2 separate regions of the Homo sapiens genome follow, and region 2 is linked to region 1. The links are contacts of gene promoters, found by promoter capture Hi-C in human tissues and cell types (Jung and others, 2019). All regions are on one chromosome and are shown on one strand. Each heading gives the region's core, a stretch centred on a gene start or on the middle of the fragment in contact. The rest is flanking DNA. Distances are from core to core; before and after follow the strand shown. Region 1 holds the start of PPY (pancreatic polypeptide). Region 2 overlaps HDAC5 (histone deacetylase 5).

Region 1 (4,720 bases), core at 790-3,289:
TTCGTATAAATTTTGGTGCTTCTGCTGCCTAGGCTGCAGTAAGGCACTGGTGAGGGGTGCACTTGGGGAAGGGTTGTCATCAGGCTGTGTCGGGAAGGTCTATGGGTACTGAACTGGGAAGATTCAAGACTGCCACTTCACAGACTTGCTGAAGGACCATCTGCTCAGAGGAGTCCCTGCCTTCCTCTGGCCACCACTTTTCCCTCTGCGAAGGGGAGAGGATGAGTTGAGTGACTCTGATGACCCCCGCCAACGTTCTGGATGATCCCCTTTTCCTCTGCCCTGCCCTGCCCTCCCCTTTCTCTCCCATGCATTTGGCACTTCCTGCTGCCCCCACCAGGGGTCCACAGAGACACAGGACAGGCTGTGGCTTTGACTTGCTTTATTGAGCCTGTGTGGGAGCAGGGAGCAAGCTTTGGCCAGAGCCAAGGGTGCAGAGGGGAGAGCTGGGCTGGCGCTGCTCATGGAGTCGTAGGAGACAGAAGGTGGCATTATAAGTCCAGCGGGCTGAGCTCCCTGTGAGGACAGGGCAGAACATGGCAGTGTAGGGGGTAGGCCTCGTGCCCTCAGGAGGCCTCAGGCTGGCCCTGGGCTCCTGTTCTCCCTCTTCCACCCCCCACTACACCTTTCCAAGCCCTGATTCAGTCCCACCACCCCCATTTCAGCTCCAGGGAGCTGGACAGACAGGGCAGGGAGTCAAACTCACCTGGGGACAGCAGCATGCGGGGACCCCCACTCCGAGAAGGCCAGCGTGTCCTCTTTGTGTCTTTTCCCATACCTGGGAGGGAAGAGGCAGCAGGGGCAAGCACTGTGCCCAGGTGCCAGCCCACCTGTTTCATATCTGCCTGTAGGCACCATCTTGCCCAGGGCACATTGGTCTAGGCCTGTTGAGCACAGATGCCCTGTTTTCCCAAGAGCAGGCCTGGAAGGGGCTGGGGCTGGGGCTGGGGATAGGGTGTGGCCAGGAATGTGGAGTGGGCCCAGGGTCCCAGGGGCTGGGATCTCTCTCCCCAACTGTGGCACACACCTAGGCCTGGTCAGCATGTTGATGTATCTACGGAGATCAGCTGCATACTGGGCCATCTGCTCTGGTGTGGCATTGTCCCCTGGGTACACTGGCTCCAGTGGGGCTCCCTGGGCACCCAGCAGTGGCTGTAGTAACAGAGCCACGCAGGTGGACAGGAGCAGCAGGGAGAGGCAGAGGCGTGCGGCAGCCATCTGAGGAGCAAGCAGAGGGGAGGTGGAGAGCCCGGGCTGCAGATTTTCCCGTGCCCAGGAAGCAGGGCCCAACTATCCAGCCCCTTAGCCCATCATCCATTTCTCCAAGCCTGGGGACAAGGGGGCAGAGCAAAGGGCCACTCCAAGCTGGCCACTCCACCTCCTAGACACTGCTCTGAAGGCACGGACAGCCTGTCCTGTGAGCAGCCCAGCAAGCCAGGGCCTCGCAAGTTAGAAAAGTATAGCAGAGAAAATGGGGATGTGAGTCCTGGAGACACGGGACTCATGACATCCAGGGCCTCATGGCTCCCAGGAGGCAGCAGCTAGTGGGAATAAGGGCATGCCAGGTCACCCACAGGGTGGGGGACACAGAATGAACTCGGGAAGCCAAGGACAGAAATCCATGGCCTTGTGGGTCTGGCCCTCCACCCTGCGATAGAGACACAGATATCGGTCCTGGAGAAGACGCTACTGTCCATGTCGTCCTGCACAGACCAGCAAAGGCACTCACACAGGGACCCCAGTCACTCACAAGGTCACAGTCACACATTCCAGTTCACAGCCATGCACACGAGTGTGCACACACACGTGCAGTCAGCAGACGGCTCTTCTAGCGTGACAGGTCTGTCCAGATGCAGAAAGCAAGACCCAAGCAGGACCTTAGGCCTCCCAAGGCCCCTGGCCCTGCAAAGCACCACCTCCTCTCCATCCCAGGCCCCAGCCTGGGGGAGGCCCCCAGAGCCCCAGGCAGGCTGAGCCCACTTACCCGGAGTCCAGAGTAAATGGGCACTAGACCAAGCGAGCACCTGCCTCAGGCCGGATGGGCCCCTGCCCTCGGCTGGGCCGCTTTATAGTCCTCAGCCCCCCAGAGTCCCCGCCTCCTGTCAGCCTCTCTCACTCCGAAGCCCTCACCCCTCCTCTCACTGTCTCCTCATACTGGCAACGCCAGTACTGAGGCCAGAGACGGGAGGGGGACAGGGCAGTTCTGTGGGTGCCAGACCAGCAGCATAACAGATAAAACTGGACCACAGTAAAAGTCTCCTGTGGGCCCCCATCACTGACACCCCTTCCCTTTGGGCACCAGAGCAGGCTTGGTTCAAGAAAGATGGGGTTCTGGGACTCGAGAGTGACTGAAAGGTTTTGGTCACAGGCCTTGGAACTAGCTCTCCTGCCTCCCAAAGATCAACCCAAATCATCCAACGGATTCTCTTGGGGCAGAAGATTGAGGCTGCAGCTGGAAGACTGAGGCTACAGCCAGAGCCTCCAGGCTGAAGAATGGAAACTCAGGCCATCCTCTGCAGCTTGCAACTAGAACAAGGTGGGAAGAGGGAAGGGGCCTCAGGTCCTCAGGCAAGGTGGAAAGGAGTGGGGTGCCAGGCTTGGAGAAACCCATTTGGTGGGTGCATAGGATGCAGAATGAGAACTCATGTGCCTGGGTTCAGGGGAAATGTTGAGGGGGGTGCCGGTTTCCAGTATCCATTTCCCTCCCCATCTCAGAGCCCCCATTCCAGGGAAGTGCTAAAAACCAGCTTCATTTGTAAAGCCTCACATTTTCCAAAGTGCTGCCAGCTCAGTCACCTCACTAAATCCCCACAACAACCCATTTTACAGATTCAGGATCTGAAATCTGCTCAGAGATGTCAAATCACTGGCCCCAAACCCCACAGCCAGTCAGACCCCAAAATTTAACTCCAAACCTGGACTGTTTTTTTTCCTAAGTGGGGCCGTCAAAGTATTGTTATAATTTCCCACTTTTTGGCTGAGAAACCTGAGGCTCACAGAGGTAAAGACGCTTGCTCAAGATCTCATAGCTACCGAGGTTCCGAATTCTGGCTTAGATTCTCAACCCCACTAATCCATCCCCACCAGAAGCCCCTGAGTCTCCCCTGCCCAGCGTCTCTTCCCAACCCCCAGTCTCCCTCCCCTGCTTAGGCCAAGGAGTGGTAACTGGCTGTGTCTGAATGACACGGTGACACCAAGTACGGAGCTAAGGACTTATGACTGCTGACGTTCTGCTGTCCCAGATCAGTATACCAAGAAGTTGGGAGATGGGGGGGACTGTTGGGGAAGAGGGGACTGGAGGTGAAACTCCAGGGATCTGGCAGGGTGGGCTTAGAGTCAGACAGACCTGGGTCCAAATCCTGGCTCTGCATTGGCTGGCTCTGTGAGCCTGGGAAAGTAATTTCTTTAGCCTCTCTGAGCTTCACTTTTCCTCTCAGTAAAATAGGCTCATCACACCCATCTGAAGATAGGGAGAATAAAGGAAGGCTCAGCAAACATCAGTGTTCTGCCTTGACCCTCTCAATTTTGATTTTGGTTAACAAGAAGAGCAATAATGCTTCACCAGACAACTTACATTCCACAAAGCAAATACGAAAGTCATTCTGTCTCAGCAAGCCCGGGCCTTTCTCTGGACTGAGGTTTTCCACTTGCAAAACAAGGGTGTGAATTGGTGGCTGGTCTCAGCCTGGCCTTGGGTTTGGCGGGTAGAGGTTGCAGCTCGCCGCCAGAGGGCGCCAGGCTCCAACCCTAGTTAAAAGGATCTGAGCTCCCACAGGACCATGGCCTTGGAGGGACCTGTTCTGGCTGCTACTCATGTGGGGACCCAGCCCCACCCAACAGACAATGGATCTAGGGATTGACTCAGATGCCAGGGCCACTTACAGTTCTATCCTGTCGCAGAGGTAAACCTAAGTGCCTAAGAAATAACAGGCACTCCACAAATGTCAACCAAACCGTAGCTTTCATTTTTCTCCTTTGCAAACAACAGATTCCTCTTCTGGGTCCTCTCAGGGATGTGGTGACAATCCAGGAGGAAGTGGTAGTAGATGTGCTTTCTACACTGCATGGCCATGTGTATTAGTTCCTTCTCATACTGCTTTGAAAAGAACTGCCCGAGGCCAGGCGCAGTGGCTCACGCCTGTAATCCCAGCACTTTGGGAGGCTGAGGCAGGCGGATCACCTGAGGTCAGGAGTTCAAGACCAGCCTGGCCAACATGGTGAAACCCCATCACTACTAAAAATACAAAAATTAGCCGGGCGTGGTAGCGCATGCCTGTAATCCCAGCTACTTGGGAGGCTGAGGCAGGAGAATCACTTGAACCAGGGAGGCAGAGGTTGCAGTGAACCGAGATCGTGCCGCTACACTCCAGCCTGGGCTGTAACAGAGTGAGACACCATCTCAAAAAACACACAAAAAACAAAAAGAACTACCTGAAATTGGGTCATTTATAAAGGAAAGAGGTTTAATTGACTCACAGTTCAGCATGGCTGGGGAGGCCTCAGGAAACTTAAAATCATGGTGGAAGGCGTAGGGGAAACAAGGCACCTTTCTCACAAGGCGGCAGGAAGGAGAAGTGCTGATCAAAGGGGAGAAGAGCAACTTATAAAATCATCAGCTCTCGTGATGACTCACTCACTATCACGAGAACAGCATGGGGAAAACTGCCCCCATGATTCAATGACCTCCACCTGGTCTCTCCCTTCGCATGAGGACTACGGG
Region 2 (4,720 bases), core at 1,198-3,697, 170 kb after region 1:
GACCAGCTTGGCCAACATAGTGAAAACCCATCTCTACTAAAAATACAAAAATTAGCCAGGCACGGTGGCGTGTGCCTGTAGTCCCAGCTACTCGGGAGGCTGAGGCAGGAGAATCGCTTGAACCCAGGAGGTGGAGGCTGTGGTGACCCAAGATCGTGCCACTGTACTCCAGCCTGGGCAAAAGAGGGAGACTCCGTATCAAAAAAAAAAAAAAAAAAAAAGGGCAGGGAAAGTACCTGATAGCCTTGTCACTCAGTGCATTATAATAGTTCCACTCTCACCCCTGAGTCTTGCACTTCTTACCCTCCCGGCACTACATACCTATACACACAGCCAAACCCAGAAAGACTGAAGAGCACGAACACGAATATCCAGGGAAAGCCCTAAGACCAAACCTGGACCCCATGGCACTTCCCAGTGTCCATAGCATTCCTTCCTGGCACAAGCAGGATTCACACCCTCCCTCCATGGGAAAAGCAGACTCCTCCTCCATGCCATCTCATAAAGTCCTGCGTATTGTCTGGGCATCAGCTCCACCCAGTACAAGACAAAGGGGAATCCAGGGCCCACATAAGGGAGGCAGAGAATTCCCCACCTCTGTGTCCTTGAGAATCCCATACTAGAGTTCAAACTCCCAGGCTCCCCAAGCCAGAACTAAGCTGGGATGATGGTGGTGCCCACTGTGCACTGGGGAGCTGTGGTAGGGTGGCCAGGCAGAGACCCCATCCATCAAGGAAGACCTCTGATCGCTAAGAGCAGATGCTGAGATCCGCCCCACTCTTTAAGCAAGAACAGCAGACTGCCCCTGTCCTTCGGTAGGCTAAGGCTCTGTCTTACCCGCTGGGGTGACTCACTAAAGCTGTCTCTATTCACCCAGAGGTCCAGGCCCCAGAATAGAGCCCAGGAATCCTGCCAGCAATTCTGGACTCCAGCCCTCCCCATGCGACATTCATTCATCCATGTGCCAGGCACTGTGCTAGGTGCTGGGCAATGGCAACAACCAAGACAGCCCAGAGAGCAAAGGCTATCCCTAAAATAGGGTTCTAAAGATGCTGCTGGAGGTGGCAGGCAGGCACCACCCTCGAAAGACCCTTGCCCCAACCCCTTGGGCTTGGGAGACCTGCGCAACTCACACCATCCAAAGAAGCTTCCCTGGACACCTGCTTTTTCAGCCATAGGATCTTGCATCCTGTCTGGAGACCGATCAAGAGATGGGGAGAGGGGGTGGGGAGGGAAACACCAGGCTGCCTGGGCCCTCATGGCCGTGTTTATCCGGGGTGGATTTTTTTTAACCCAAAGGTTAAAGTGTTTCTATTTGAAACATCTATTTACATTCCAGAGTCCAAAAAAAAAACAAAAAAAAAACAAAAAAAAAACAAGGCTGCCGAGCTCCAGGCCTATATCTGTCCCTAGCCGCGTCACAGACACAGCATCAGAGCTGCGCAGGGGGAACATTCTTAGCCCTCTCCCCGAGCCGCTGAGGTGACTCACGCCTCCCTCCTGCCAGCATGGACCAAGCCACCACTCTGAAGGCCAGCCAGCGTTGGGGGTGGAGTGGGGAGACAGGGATCTGGACAGAGGGGCTGCCTGGGAGTCCATGCAGGGGCAGCCAGGCTTAGGGAGGAGATGAGAGAGCAGGGTCCCAGCCTGCAAGGTTTCTGGGGTACAATCTGGAAGCAGGTGAATGAACAAGCTGAGGAGGAAACTTCCGGCCAACTGCTGGCTGCTGCTGGTAGCAAGGAACAGAGGCGACAGGGCAGGATGGGTGGACCTGATAAGCCAGATGGCGTGGAGCTGTCCCAAGCAGATGCTCTGGGATTATTCTGCCTTCCAAGAGACCACCTTGAGTCCCAGAGGCTGTGGGCTAGGGGCCAGCAGGCAGGGTCTTTAGCTGGACCTGTGGACTCCAGACCAGGATAAGAACCAGCCCTCTGGGTTTATTCCTCATCCCAGGGACCTGTGTAGGGGGCCCCCAGGCATACGCCCCTACCTCAGGGGACTACGTGGGTATCTTGTAGAGCCGGTTCCCAAGGTTACACCCCCATCCCCACCCCAGCCTACAGGGCTGGCCCCAGGGTAATGCCCCTATCCTCGGGGCCTGCATGGATACCCTGCAGGGCTAGTCTTCAGGGTCATGCTCCTACATGAGAAAACTGCATGGGCATCCCTGCCTGGGCAGATGATAAGCCATGTTCCAAAGATTTTTTGAATCTTCCCAAAACATTCATGCTCTGACACATCCAAGTCCCACTGCAACCTTATCCCTGGGCAGCTCAGAGCCAAATCACAGGCACCTGCAGAGGCACACAGTTCCCACTTTCCAATTTGAAGCTTGGGATGCACACCCACATATCCAGAGGCAAGGACTCCCCATTCACACGCACACACACAGACACCCACACTTGAGTGCCAAGCCACTGCCAGGAGGGGCTGAGCAGGCATGGGTCCAGCAGGCCCCTCCCTGGAGGAAGCATCTTGTGGTGCCGGCCTGGTGGGGAGGCTGTGCCAGGAAGGCTTGATGCTGCCAACAGGTTCCTGGGAGTGAGGGAAGGAGCGGCCCAGCTCTGGGGGACCCCACCCCTAGCCAAGAGCCAAAAAAGTTCCTGCTGAGAAGGTGGCAGGATTAGGGGGTCCCGAAGCCCATCTGAGCCAGAGTAACACCTCTTCATCCTCATGAGATGGGAATCAACCCAGACCTGGGGAGAGGAGCGCCATCGGGAGACAGCTAGGGGCTAAGGCAGCCAAGCCCCTCAATATCCAAGCTGCCAGCCTCTGCCTAACTCCATCATGACTGCACCAAGCCTCCCCAAGTGTCTGATTCTCAAGAGACTCCTGGCTGGGGACTTGCGGAAGTCACTGTACTCGATCCTGTAGCCCCAAGAACCAAGCCAGAGGAGCTGGAGTAACCTTTATTCTTGTGGACACCCAGCTACACCTTCTTCCCTTGCCCAAACTTGGGGAGCGGGCAGCATGGAGGCGGGTCACTGACCCACTTCCTCCCCTCTGACCACAGTGCCAACTAGGCCAGGATCCTCCAGTAACCCCCAGCCCCCAGCAGTGGATGCCGACCCTGCCAGAGACTGAAGGGACTGGAAGAGATGCAGCAGAGTACAGCGGAGGGGCACCGGGGAGCAGCAGGCTCTGGGCAGGGAGGGCAGGGGCCTCTCTGAGCAGGGATCCCCCAGCCCTGTGTATTCTCAACAAAACTCTCAAGACAGATCTATGCAGGACCCTATCTGTGCAAGGCTCAGGGCCAGATGCTCAGCCCAGGGACAAGGATGCCAGATGACAGAGGGCAGGCAGGGACATCAAGGCACTTACCTGTCACAGGGATGCTGTGCAGAGAAGTCCGCGGCAGGATTTCCAAGGATGGTTCCCGACCTGACATCCCATCTGCTGAGAAACAGGATTCTGTCTCATAGATGGTCTGCAGCATCTCCACGAGCCCCTGAGCCTTGGGCACCAGCAGCATGCCAGGGAGGGGGCCGCCAGAGGCGGGGAGCAGACCGAAGGGAAGGTGGTCGGGCAGCCCGCACAGCACAGGTTCCCTCAGGCCACTGCCGACGGGACCCACACTGTAGGGAAGTGCCTCATCCGGCCTGGGCACTCCTGGCGGCAGGAGGGGCAGGGAGGCCCTAGAGCTGCAGGCCCAGCTCTGCTCTAGAGGGGCATCCGACCACCAGCCTCTCCCTGGTTCCTGGGAGCTGGGGTATGGCTGAGCACTTGGGACAGGAAGGGGAGCTCAGCGGGCAGGCGGGCTCTGTGTTCCCTCCCAACCCTGGGTGACAGCTCTGGGCCCGGCTCCCTGCTCCTCCTTCCCGAATGAGCCGCCGCCGGCAGCTGGCAGGAGACTGAAATAGCAGTTGGGGGAGGGCCCTGTCTATAAATAGGTGGAGCATGCTCAGGGAGCTGCGGGCGGGCTGCCAGGAGGCCCCATGGGGGGGGAGGCGGTTCTACCCCAGGAGGAAGCGCCAGGCGAGGGGGATGGGAACAGGGGAGGGCCTGCACTCAGGGCCAAGGCCACAGCGCTGGGTGGCCAGAGGCTGGGCTGGGGAAGGGCGCCGGCCAGGGTACCCATGCATCTGGGAGCGGCTCTGGCTGCTACTCTTGGCAAGCAAGCCAGGGGATGGAGACCAAGAAGCCAGACTCAAGCCTCCGTCTTTCTTCTTGCCTTCCAGAACAGGTAAAGGAATTGGAAGGGTCTAGGAGAGGCTGGCACACAGGCACCTTCCCTGGAGTTCTAATAGCCCCATGGAGGTTTGCTTAACTTCTGCCCTCCCACAGAGTTGAGAGGTGCCTCCCCACCCCTTCAACCAGCAGAGAGACCCCTAAACACCTGCTAAATGGCAGCTCCCTCCCGCTCATTCTGGAGTGTCGCCTCCAGAGGCTGCTCAGCCTCAGCTTCTTTCTAGGGTGTAGGGATACTCCTCCTGGGCAGACAGGTGTCCCCTGGTCCCCTTTCCTCACCCCAATCCAGGAAAAGGGACCAGGGAACATCTGCTAATTCTCAGAGCACAGGTAGCTCCTCCATGGCAATGTGCCAGGTGCAGTGCTACGAACATCATATACATCATCTCATTAATTCTGCGTGGTGACCTTGGGAGAGGCACAGATGGGAAAACTGAGGCACAGGGAGATGAAGTCACTCACCCTAGGTCATAAAGCTGCTTACATGGCAGGGCTGGGATGTCTGAGGCTCAAGTCTGAGCTCTAACCACCA

Evidence for each region. Contacts are between HindIII fragments. The study calls those that stand out against the background at their distance.
Region 2: a fragment that was not itself captured here is called in contact with the fragment with the promoter of PPY in region 1 in 2 of the 25 tissues and cell types used here (mesenchymal stem cells and spleen).

The regions. Positions count from the first base shown.
Region 1 is chr17:43,940,437-43,945,156 of GRCh38, forward strand. PPY (pancreatic polypeptide) reads right to left here and starts at 2,040. Exons shown (of 4, transcript NM_002722.5): 1 at 1,985-2,040; 2 at 1,028-1,218; 3 at 707-778; 4 at 368-516. The coding sequence starts at 1,218. The coding sequence ends at 492. The HindIII fragment of the contact is 11,700 bases long and covers 1-4,720 here.
Region 2 is chr17:44,107,408-44,112,127 of GRCh38, forward strand. It overlaps HDAC5 (histone deacetylase 5), which reads right to left. Exons shown (of 27, transcript NM_005474.5): 3 at 3,322-3,393. Among named protein-coding and RNA genes, the nearest start is that of HDAC5, 14 kb to the right of the region's middle. RefSeq lists an enhancer at 4,607-4,720. The HindIII fragment of the contact is 4,562 bases long and covers 167-4,720 here.